2 separate regions of the Homo sapiens genome follow, and region 1 is linked to region 2. Evidence: promoter capture Hi-C in 16 types of primary human blood cells and fetal thymus (Javierre and others, 2016). All regions are on one chromosome and are shown on one strand. Each heading gives the region's core, a stretch centred on a gene start or on the middle of the fragment in contact. The rest is flanking DNA. Distances are from core to core; before and after follow the strand shown. Region 1 has its middle 18 kb from the start of SPAG4. Region 2 holds the start of NFS1 (NFS1 cysteine desulfurase).

What was found. Contacts are between HindIII fragments. The CHiCAGO score rates a contact against its expected background, and 5 or more counts as called.
Region 1: a fragment that was not itself captured here is called in contact with the fragment with the promoter of NFS1 in region 2 in 6 of 17 cell types (activated CD4 T cells, naive CD8 T cells, total CD8 T cells and 3 more); the score reaches 9.1 in activated CD4 T cells.

What each region holds. Positions count from the first base shown.
Region 1 is chr20:35,594,889-35,600,678 of GRCh38, reverse strand. It overlaps the pseudogene FER1L4. Among named protein-coding and RNA genes, the nearest start is that of SPAG4, 18 kb to the left of the region's middle. RefSeq lists an enhancer at 1,027-1,527. The HindIII fragment of the contact is 2,406 bases long and covers 2,850-5,255 here.
Region 2 is chr20:35,696,461-35,702,012 of GRCh38, reverse strand. NFS1 (NFS1 cysteine desulfurase) reads left to right here and starts at 2,661. Exons shown (of 13, transcript NM_021100.5): 1 at 2,661-2,821; 2 at 3,423-3,532; 3 at 4,213-4,329. The coding sequence starts at 2,725. It overlaps ROMO1 (reactive oxygen species modulator 1), which reads right to left and starts at 2,608. Exons shown (of 3, transcript NM_080748.3): 1 at 2,557-2,608; 2 at 2,250-2,380; 3 at 1,033-1,215. The coding sequence starts at 2,380. The coding sequence ends at 1,107. RBM39 (RNA binding motif protein 39) reads left to right here. Exons shown (of 17, transcript NM_184234.3): 17 at 1-666. RefSeq lists enhancers at 1,984-2,203, 1,775-2,434, 2,435-3,094 and a silencer at 2,694-2,883. The HindIII fragment of the contact is 3,611 bases long and covers 1-3,546 here.

The DNA of each region.
Region 1 (5,790 bases), core at 2,803-5,302, 100 kb after region 2:
GGGATCAGACCCCAAAGGCGGTTCCGCAGCACTTGGACGCCAGCCCCGGTGCCGAGGGGCCTGAGATCCCCCGTGCCATGGAGGTGGAGGTGGAGGAGCTGCTGCCGCTGCCAGAGGTGGGGGCTGGGGGGTAGCAAAGGGGGCGGGGTCACCTCAGCTCTGGAAGGTGGAATCCACTCTCAGGCATTAAACACCACGACAGGGGTCTCAATTTGGGGGCCTGGGCGAAGAGTGAGGTGTGTGCCCACATGGGCTCTGGTATATGCACACATGTTGTGGGAGAGAGGACCCATACCCAGGGCCAATGCTGGGGCCGGGAGGAGGGAGAGGGAGTAAGAAACCTGCAGTGACTTCCAAGCCTTGGTCGCACTTCTTTCTGTGGGCAATGCGGCCAAGCATAGTCCAGGCTGTTCCCTGGGAGAGTAGGTGCTGACTCCAGCCTGATGGCCTCCCCCAGAATGTCCTGGCGCCCTGTGAAGATTTCCTGCTTTTCGGTGTGCTCTTCGAGGCCACCATGATCGACCCCACCGTGGCCTCCCAGCCCATCAGCTTCGAGATCTCCATTGGTGTGTGGCCTAGCCGAACCCCTGAGTGCCATTTCAGACCTTAGAACCCTGGAAGGGGTGTTGACTTTCAGTAAGGGGCAGGTTCTGACTTCTGTTGAGGCAGAGGTGGTTGAGGGGGGGTTCCAGCCCTCAGCCTGGCGCCCACTGACCCTTGCTGCTCTGGGGCAGGTCGCGCAGGCCGTCTGGAGGAGCAATTGGGCCGAGGGTCCAGGGCTGGGGAGGGAACTGAGGGTGCAGCCGTGGAGGCTCAGCCTCTGCTGGGAGCCAGGCCAGAGGAGGAGAAAGAGGAGGAAGAACTGGGGACCCATGCTCAGCGGCCTGAGCCCATGGACGGCAGTGGGTGAGTGCTGCCGGTGGCTGGAAGGGGGGGTTTGGGAGGTCTCCAGGAACCCAGAATGCCCGCGAAGCCTCCTCTCCATCTGCCAGGCCATACTTCTGCTTGCCCCTCTGTCACTGCAAGCCATGCATGCATGTGTGGAGTTGCTGGGAGGACCACACCTGGCGCCTGCAGAGCAGCAACTGCGTGCGCAAAGTGGCCGAGAGGCTGGTAAGGGCAAGGCTGGCGCCCACAGGGAGAGACCGGGCCGTAGGGACGCCTAGGACACTGCAGCCTTTGAAGGAAGCTCTGCAGTGGGGCTAATGGGCAGGCACTAGAGAGCCAGCACCTTGCTGGTGCAAGGCCAGGGGGGCAAGGGCCAAAGAGCACAGCTTCTGGGCGAACCGAGGATGCCAGGAGTTGTGGGAGGACAGAGTTTCAGAATTGGTGGACCCAGGAAGGGACTGGATGAAGGAGATGGGTAGAGGTACGGATGGTGGGGCCGCACATTTGGTGGAGCCAGTAGCGGGCTAGAAAGATGGAGCCATCAACCTGATGGAGCCAAAGAAGGGCAGGCCAAGAGGTGTGGTCGTGAGTGGGTGGGGCCTTGGGTGGGGGTGTGGTCTACAAGAGGTCTGAGTCAGGGACCCTCAAGACTCTGACCCTCTCCCACGTTGCACAGGACCAGGGGCTGCAGGAGGTTGAGAGACTGCAGCGCAAGCCGGGGCCTGGCGCCTGTGCACAGCTCAAGCAGGCACTGGAAGTACTGGTGGCTGGGAGCAGGTGAGCTGAGAGCCACTCCTACTGCTGCCTGTACTTGGGCCAACTCCAGGGCAAGGGAGACTCTCGGTGGCTGTCTGGACCCAAGGGCAGCTTGCAGCTGCATTTGCTCAGCACCTTACAGAAAAATGAGAAGACAATTATTCCTATCCAGGGAGCTGATGAGATTATTGGGGGTTAGGCTTCCCCTGATTCTCTGGCACCTCAGCTGTTTTCCATCTCCATGAGTTCCCTTTCCCACGCTCCTAGAGGCTTATCCCGTGTCTCTTCAAACCTCGCCTCCTTTCTTTCACACTTGTTCCTGCTAATCACCTTCCCACACCCAGTCTACCTCCTTGCCGGCTTCTGCATCCATCTGCTCTCCTCCTTTCCTGCTCCAGTGACCACAGCTGTGATCTGGATTTCATCACTGGAGGAATTAGTTCTGTAATTGTCAATTTTCTCCCCTTCATCATTGATTGGTCCCTAGTTACCAGGTCATTGCTGTAACCACATAAACATGTTCGGCCAGGTGCGGTGGCTCACACCCGTAATCCCAGCACTTTTGGAGTCTGAGGCGGGCAGATCATTTGAGGTCAGGAGTTCAAGACCAGACTGGCCAACATGGCGAAACCCAGTCTCTACCAAAAAAATACAAAAATTAGCCGGGCATAATGGTGGGTACCTCCCAGCTACTTGGGAGGCTGAGGCAGGAGAGTCACTTGAACCTGGCAGGTGGAGGTTGCAGTGAGCCAAGATTGCGCCACTGCACTCCAGCCTGGGTGACTGAGCAAGACTACGTCTCAAAAACAAACAAACAAGAAAACAAAAAAAAAACATGTTCTAGTTACTTCCATCTTTGACCTTCACTACTGCCCTGAATTCCATTACCTGCTCCAGGTACTTAAGTGATTTTCAGATCCTCTTCTCAAAAGGGTTCTTTATTTGATAACTATTTATGGCACTTACTATGCCAGACACTGTTTTAGGCACAGGAATATCAGTGAAAAAGCATTCCTGCCCACAAAAATCCCTGAAGTTGGCCAGGCACAATGGCTGATGCCTGTAGTCCCAGCTACTTGTGGGAGGCTGAAGTGGGAAGATCTTGAGCCCAGGAGTTCAAGGCTGCAGTGAACCATGATTGCGCCACTGCACTCCAGTCTGGGTGACAGAATGGGACCCTGACTTTAAAAAAAAACCCTGAAGCTTACATTTGGGTGTAGAGGTTGGGGAAGGGTGGAGACATGTGAAATAAGCATGTAAACAGATAGAAAAATACTAAGTAGGATAAGTGTTAAGAAAGAACGCGAAGCAAGGAAGCATTAGAAAGAGGTACTGCAATTTCAGAAAGGGTGTGGAGGGGAGGCCACCGTGAAGGTGACATGAAGCTGGAGGAGAAAGCCTGCCTGTAATGGTGTTCCAGGTGGAGGGGACAGCATGCCTGGAGTGTTTGAGGAGGAGCACAGAACCAGTGTGACTGCAGCAGTGTGACATAGTAGAAGAGGCTGGAGGAGGCCAGGGGAAGGAGGATGATGGTGGGGAGGGACAGATCCTGTGGGAGCCTCACAAGCCATTTTAATGACTTTGGCTTCTTCTCTGAGTGAAATGGGGGGGGAGGGGCAGTGAATGTTTTGAAAAGGAAAAAGATACACTCTAACACATAGATCCTTAAAAGGGATCAGTGGGGGAGGAAGCAGGGAGATTAGTAAAGGGGCTATTGTGATAATCCACGTGACAGGTGGCGATGAACTGATCTAGGGGATGGTTGCAGTGGAGATGGAGTGCTGTGAATGGATTCCAGAGAAAATTTGGAATTGGGGGTGATACCTCAGGACTTGCTAAGATTTTGGCTTGTGGGCTGGGCATGGTGGCTCACACCTGGAATCCCAGCACTTTGGGAGGCCAAGGTGGGAGGATCAATTGAGCCCAGGGGTTTGAAACCAACCTGAACAATATAGGAAGACCTTGTCTCTATGAAAAATACAAAAGTTAGCTGGGTGTGGTGGTGCACACCTGTAGTCCCAGCTACTCAGGAGGCTGAGATGGGAGGATGGCTTGAGTCCAGGAGTTTAAGGCTGCACCAACTGCATAGTTATGCAAGCCAAAATCTTCTTTTTTTGGAAAAAAGAAAAAAATCTGTTTTCAACAGAAAACAAAGGAGAAGGTCTGATGGAAGCAGGGATGAGGTGGGATCTGAGGGAAGGCAGATAGTAGGAGCTCAGTTTTGGACATGTTAACTGTGAAATTCTTATTGAATTGTAAGTGGACATGTGTGGTAGGCAGTTAGCTATATGAGTTGAGTTCTGGGGAGAATTCTAGGCTGGAAATGTCAATTTGGGAACTATCATTATGTAGATGGAGCTGGATAACAGCATTAACAGAGCACAGAAAAGAGAAATCTGAGAACCTGGAGCGTTCCAGCATTTAGAGGCAGGGAGGAAGCAGGGACTCAGCCAAGGACCCTGATCAGGAGAGGCAGTGAGGTAGGAGGCTGTAGGTGGTCACTTTTCTGTTCTCACCATGCTCAACCTTTCAGCGTCAGTAGACACAGTTGTTTCACCATTTTGGCCAGGCTGGTCTCGAACTCCTGACCTCAAGTGATTCACCGCCTCGGCCTCCCAAAGTGCGGGGATTACAGGCCTGAGCCACCACACCTGGCCAGATTCTGGATATTTTTTGAAGGTAGAGCATAAAGAATTTGCTGATGAATTGATGTGGAATAAGAGAGAAAGAGCAGTGAGAGATGACTCGAAAGTTCTGAGGTGAAATAGGGTTTTTGTTTTGTTTTGTTTTGTTTTGCGGGGGGGATCATTGGAAAGTATGCATTTGGCTTGGGCATGTAATGTTCAAGCTATACGTTAGCCAAGCTGGTGGAGACGTCTGAGGCTTCAATGTGCTTAGGAATCCCCGAGGGCATAAACGCAGCTTCTGATTCAGCAGGGCCTGGGGTGGGGCTGAGGTCCTACAGTTTTAAATAGCCTGCAGGTGATACCAGTGCTGTTGGTCCATGGGCCACACCTGGGGTAGCCAGGGTAGTAGGTGGTTAAGTATTAGCGAGCTCTGGAGCTCAAGAGCAAGGCTGGCCTTAATGATTTTTGGGAGTGGTCCAAATAGAGATAGGCCAGCTTTGCAGGAGAAAGGGTGCCTCTTCAGAGCCCAAGACTGAGAGGGCTATGAGGGAGGCTGGGGGTGGGAGGTCAGCTCAGAGCAAGTGGCCCCAAGGTCACTGTCCTTCTCCTTTCCTTTGATTCCTGTCTGCTGTGCACATCCCTGCTCACTGCAGACAGTTTTGCCACGGTGCCGAGCGCAGGACGATGACCCGGCCCAATGCCCTGGATCGATGCCGAGGGAAACTCCTGGTGCACAGCCTGGTACGGCCTCGGGAAGGGACTCAGGGGCGCCTAGCTGGGGCCTTCCGCTCATGCTGTCTTTTTGCCCTCCCAGAACCTTTTGGCTAAGCAAGGACTGCGACTTCTACGCGGCCTGAGACGGCGCAATGTGCAAAAGAAGGTGGCACTGGCCAAGAAGCTCCTGGCAAAACTGCGCTTTCTGGCTGAGGAGGTAATGCCTCACTCACCCCACTTTCCTACCCTGTACACCCTTTTCCCTAAGCTTTTGAACCATTCCAGAGGCCTCGGGCAGGTGTGATTTAACATTTTTCCTTTGGAATGATGCCAGGGCTGGGACTAATTGCTGTGGGCATAGGACCAAGATTCATTTGCAGTAGCTAAGGGTGAGGACAAGAGTTCTAGAATCCAGCAGAGACCCAGGGAACATTCAGGATTTCTTTGGATGAAGATTTGAGAGTAGGCTGCCTTGAGCATGACCTCCCTTGTCTGAAGCACTAAATATATACATACATATATATATATATATATATATATATATATATAACATATTGTGCTGCTGATGGGTATGTGAGATGTTCCCAATGGGTTGTGATTAGAAACAATGCTTCCGAGACCATTTTGGTACATGTCCTGGTGCTTTTCTATGGCAGTGGTTCTCAAACTTTTTGGTCTCGGGACAGGTCTCAGATTACACCACTGCACTCCAGCCTGGGTGACAGAGACTCTATCTCAAAAAAAAAAAAAAAAAAAAAAATGGAGATGGGGTCTTGCTGTGTTGACCAGGCTGGTCTCAAACTCC
Region 2 (5,552 bases), core at 1,412-3,911:
AAATCATCTGGAATTTAGCCAGTTGAGAAGCTACAGAAGTTTCTATTTTTTTTTACAGTGGATGAACTGTTTTGCTTTTTCTGATAAAGCCACTAGGTATATCTAAATAACAACCTCGGGCTGGACGTGGTGCCTTATGCCTGTATATGTGAACACTGGGAGGCGGAGGCGGGTGGATCATGAGGTCAAGAGTTTGAGACCAGCCTGGCCAACACAGTGAAACCCCGTCTCTACTAAGAATACAAATTTTTTTTGTTTTGAGACAGAGTCTCGCTCTGTCGCCCAGGCTGGAGTGCAATGGCTCGATCTCAGCTCACTGCAACCTCCACCTTCTGGGTTCAAGCGATTCTCCTGCCTCAGCCTCCCGAGTAGCTGGGAATACAGGCGCGTGTCAACACACCCGGCTTAAGTTTTTGTATTTTTAGTAGAGACGGGGTGTCACCGTGTTACCCAAGATGGTCTCCATCTCCTGACCTTGTGATCCACCAGCCTTTGCCTCCCAAAGTGCTGGGATTACAGGCATAAGCCACCGCGCCCAGCCTAACAATACAAAATTTAGCTAGGCATGGTGGCACGTGCCTGTTATCACAGCTACTCGGGAGGCTGAGGCAGGAGAAACGCTTGAACACAGGAGGCAGAAGTTGCGGTAAGCCGAGATCGTGCCACTGCACTCCAACCTGGGCGACCAAGGAAACAACCAACCTCAGGATGAACATTGCTTTGGAAATAATGCAATGTGTGACCTTGAGGAAATTTCGGCTTATAAATCCATTTTTTGAAGTAGTTTTTCTCCTTTAAAATGGTGACCGTAGTAACAAGCACAGAGTTGTACTGAGTAATTAGTTGAATAGTATCTATGGAAAATACTAGACACTCCCAAGTTTTCCAATTTTGGATTAAGAGAGGCAGGCCTTGTGAAAGAGATACTAACCCTAGTCATTACGTTAGTCCATCTCTTTAGTGCAGAAGATCCTTGGCAAAGCTGGATAATAGGCTGAGAGAAGAATATTCCTTTAAGAGAGGGACACTGACTACTCAAAGACTTTCTTTTATTAGTACATGGGCTGGGATTGATGGGAAGGGACAGATGTAGTTGGCAACCATGGTTAGCATCGGATGCCCATCCCAATGGCCATGAATGTGCCAAAGGTGCCGCCACTCTGCATCATGGTTTTCCCAATGCCGCCCATCAGCTCTCGACCCCGCATTCCGATCCTGAGGAGGAAACCAAGATGGAGCTATTTGGTAACAAAAATATCAGAAAGAGTATTAACTGCTCCTTTCCAATTTTTTGCTAACACTAGTCTAGCAACCCCTACATCTGATTTTCCACTTACTGGATATTATATCTTACTACCTGGGGTGGGTAATGAGAAGGAAAAAGATCCATCTGGGTCTCCAGGGTATTTTTCTGGTGGATGTCGTATTAACTGCCTTCAGTTTGTGGGAGGCAGCAGATGCAGTGTAAAATACATAGAGAAACCAGCTTTTTTGACTGGTGTTGCCTGCAGTTTAAGACCCAATAAAGACATCTGTCTTTTAGTTTCTTGGTGTTAATGATTTTGGAGTAAGGTGGGGGTTCAAGAGTCAGCTCTACAATTTACACATAGTGTCAAGTGTAAAATGGGCATCTCAACATTATTTACAGGATTTTGAAAACTACAGTATTTAGCACAGTGCTTAACATAGAGTAAGTGCTCTGTAAATGATAATTTACAATCTAGGGATATGGCAATAACAGCCTCTAAATGTGAAAATGACCTTTAGAGTGTAAAGTTTAACTGCTTTATCTCTGTATCCTGTATCCAGAATAGTAAAACCGCTGAACGAGTTTCTTTCCTTATGCGCAATTGGAAAAAAAAATAAAAGCAACAGTAGTAACTAGTTACTGAGCACTTAATATGTGCCAGATGCTGTGCAAAGTGTGCTGATCGAATTTTTACAACTCTATAAGTTAGATGCTACTGTCTTCATTCTACACTTAAGGAAACCCAGTCTCCAACTTGCCTAAAGTCACCGAACCAGTAAGAAAAGGGCCAGAAAGCATTTTGACTCTAAAGCTCAAATTCTTAAGCACTGACGCTTCCAACCTGACTTTACAGATTGAAGGTGGTTTGGAATGAGTCTGGCTCGCGAGGGGACAGAGAGGGAAGTCGAAAGAAGGAGGCTGTGTTCAGGCTCCAGGCCGAATGGGGCAGGGCCGGAAGGTCTGGTTGTCCTGCCCAGAGATCACCGCCCGCGCCCCTCACCTGAGACAGGAAAAGGTGCCGAAGAGCGCCCCGGCCGCCATGCCCACGGCGCAACCCATCACGAAGCCCATTTTGACACGGTCGAAGCAGCTTGGCTGGGACTGTCCGTAGGGACCCACGGCCACCGGCATCTGCGGGGGATAGGAAAGTGTGGGCCCAGGCGCTGGCCCAAGAGTCGGGCGGGGACGGAAGCGGTAGGCTGGGAAGTGGGCCCAAGGGCTCAGGGGAAGTAAGGGAAGGAAAATCAGTGGGTAGCCCGACTCCACCACCCTCTTCGCGTTCCGGCCCCGCGTCGCCCGGCGCCTACCTCACCTCGCTCGCGGGCTGGGTCGCTCAGCTCTACGTCTCTCACGGAAAACGACGGGGAGGGCGCTCGCGGCCCGATGAATCGCTTCCGGAGCGCCGGGCAGCACTTCCGGGAGCCTGGGGCCCAGGACTGCAGCGGCTTCGGAAGGTGGGCTCTGCCAGCGGGACCATGCTGCTCCGAGCCGCTTGGAGGCGGGCGGCAGTGGCGGTGACAGCGGCTCCAGGGCCGAAGCCCGCGGCGCCCACTCGGGGGCTGCGCCTGCGCGGTACGCTCGGGTCCCGCTCTCCGGGAGGCGCGGACCTGTCCCCTCCGCGCGGCGACGCAACTGAATATTCCGGAGCCTTCCTGTCCACCCTGCTGCCCAGACCCTCTGACCCTTCTCTCAAATGACACATCCCTCAAACTTTCTTAGGCGGGTCCCCGAACGGTTGACCCCGGCGCACCACCCCTCGCACCCTGCGCGACAGGCCCCCAGAGCCGTGGAGGCGCGTCCTTCAGACCGCTCCTGGCCAAGTTACAGATGCTGCTCCGGGCTCCCGTGCAGACCGTTACCTTCGGTCAGAAGGGACTGCACCTACTCTGGCTCCACGTTCCTTCTAAACGTCTTTGCCCTTTAGAGCCTTCCTTCCTACGATACCATTTGAATATCAACTCAACACCCCCTCCAGGAACCCTCTCTCCCTCTCCCTTACCTCCTTTTACAGCGTGTCAGGTATCTGGTGTTGTTTTCTTTCCATTGAGATTCGACCCTAGCATCCCTTACACTTATCTCACCTCCAGCCAGATTTTTCCTTCTGCCCTTTGGATGCCATGCGTTCATAGTTGCCTTCGGTCTTACTTGGCTACTCCGTTCCATTTTTTATCAGTTGGAGACCGTGCTCCTCAGTCTGCGGTTCCCGCAGATACAGCCGCTGCCCCGGAGGTGGGGCCAGTGCTGCGACCTCTCTATATGGATGTGCAAGCTACAACTCCTCTGGTAAGGATGAAGCTTTTCCCAAGGCTGCTTATAGGAAGTAAATGATGGGCGTGATCACGCAAAGAAATGGCTGAATCCCTGGAGAAGTGAGAGCCGTGAAGGTGTGCTGGAAAAAGCACTGAGCGAGGAGTCGGGAGGCTTAAATTCGAGGCCACTGGCATTGGCTTTACTACTCACTAGCAATTGACCTTGGTCAGATCACTTCAGCGCAGGCTCTATAGTATTAGTTAAAAGCATGGGCTCTGGAATGAGCAGAACGGCCACTTAGTAACTGTGTGAACTTGGACAAGTATTAAACGGGTTAAAAGACTAATGCAAGTTTTCACCAATGTGTGACCAGGGGTGTTTGCCTAGGCCCTGTCCTGTCCCAGCCCCTTATAGATCACATTACCTGGCAGGAATGGAAACACCAGCAGAAACAGATGTCGGAACAAGGCAGTGTTTGTAGACTACCTGAGGGGAGGCAGAACAATCCGAGTTGGGATGGGTTGTGAGTGGGAGTGTATTAGGTTGATATTTGGTGGGTAGTTTTGTGGGAACAAAAGAATGTTTGAGGCCTCCTCTAGGCAGTGCCTGAGGGGTTGAGAGTGTCTTAAGGCAGGGTGGCCAGGTCTGAGGGGTGGAGTGGGACCTGAATTGACGATGCGCTCAAGGAAAATGATCTGTTCTGTTGTGTTCAGGACCCCCGGGTGCTTGATGCCATGCTCCCTTACCTAATCAACTACTATGGGAACCCACACTCCCGGACACATGCTTATGGCTGGGAGAGTGAGGCAGCCATGGAACGTGCTCGTCAGGTTAGTACACAGGAGTCTAGGAGGTTCTAAGGTCAAAGAGGGGCAGTGGCCTGTGGGAGGCATTTCTTTCTTGGTAGGTGTGCATGGAGGTAGAAATGGTTTTGGATTCTTTCTGGAAGAGATTCAAAGAGCAGCCTTGGAGTTTGACTGCAGGCATTTGATTGGTTCCCATATTTCCTGGCTAAATGACTTGGGCAAGTTATCTAATTTCTTTGAGCCTTATTTTCCTCATTTAAAACAGAGATTGTGGTAGTTTCTACTCTGTAGGGTTACTGGGTGGATTAAATAAGACAATGCTGATAAAGTGTTTATTACCACAACATCTGTAAGTAAGAAGTACTATAAATAGTAAGAGCTCAATAGTTCTTTTTTTTTTTTTTTATGAGATGGAGTTTTCACATTTGTTGCCCAGACTGGAGTGCAGTGGCGCACGATCTTGGCTCACTGCAACCTCTGCCTCCCGGGTTCAAGTGATTCTGCTGCCTCAGCCTCCCAAGTAATTGGGATTACAGGCACACGCCACCATGCCTAGCTAATATTTTTGTATTTTTATTTATTTATTTATTTACTATTATTTGAGACAGAGTTTTGCTCTTGTTACCCAGGCTGCAGTGCAGTGGCACGATCTCGGCTCACTGCAACCTCTGCCTCCCGGGTTCAAGCAGTTCTCCTACCTCAGCCTCCCAAGTAGCTGGGATTACAGGCATGCGCCACCACACCCGGGTAAATTTGTATTTTTAGTAGAGACGGGGTTTCTCCATGTTGGTCAGGCTGGTCTTGAATTCCCGACCTCAGGTGATCCACCTGCCTCAGCCTCCCAAAGTGCTGGGATTACAGGCTTGAGCCACCATGCCCGGCCTAATATTTTTGTATTCTTAGTAGAAATGGAGTTTCACCATGTTGGCCAGGTTGGTCTCGAACTCCTGACCTCAGGTGATCTTTCCACCTCGGCCTCCCAAAGTGCTGGGGTTACAGGAGTGACCCACCACACCTGGCCAATAGTTCATTAAAAAAAAAAAGTTATTATTTTGCATTGGGCTGGAAAAGAGCCTGGGATCTGGGATATAACTAGAATCTGATTCTTGTAGGTGCAGACCTTCATCCAGGGCAATTTGGTGGAATGCAGTGGAGCTCTTCTTGCTCCAGGGCTGTCCCACCTGTGTCTGCAGCTCTATTTCTGCCTGGGGAACTGATGTTATATATCTCTGTTTCTTGGCTTGCAG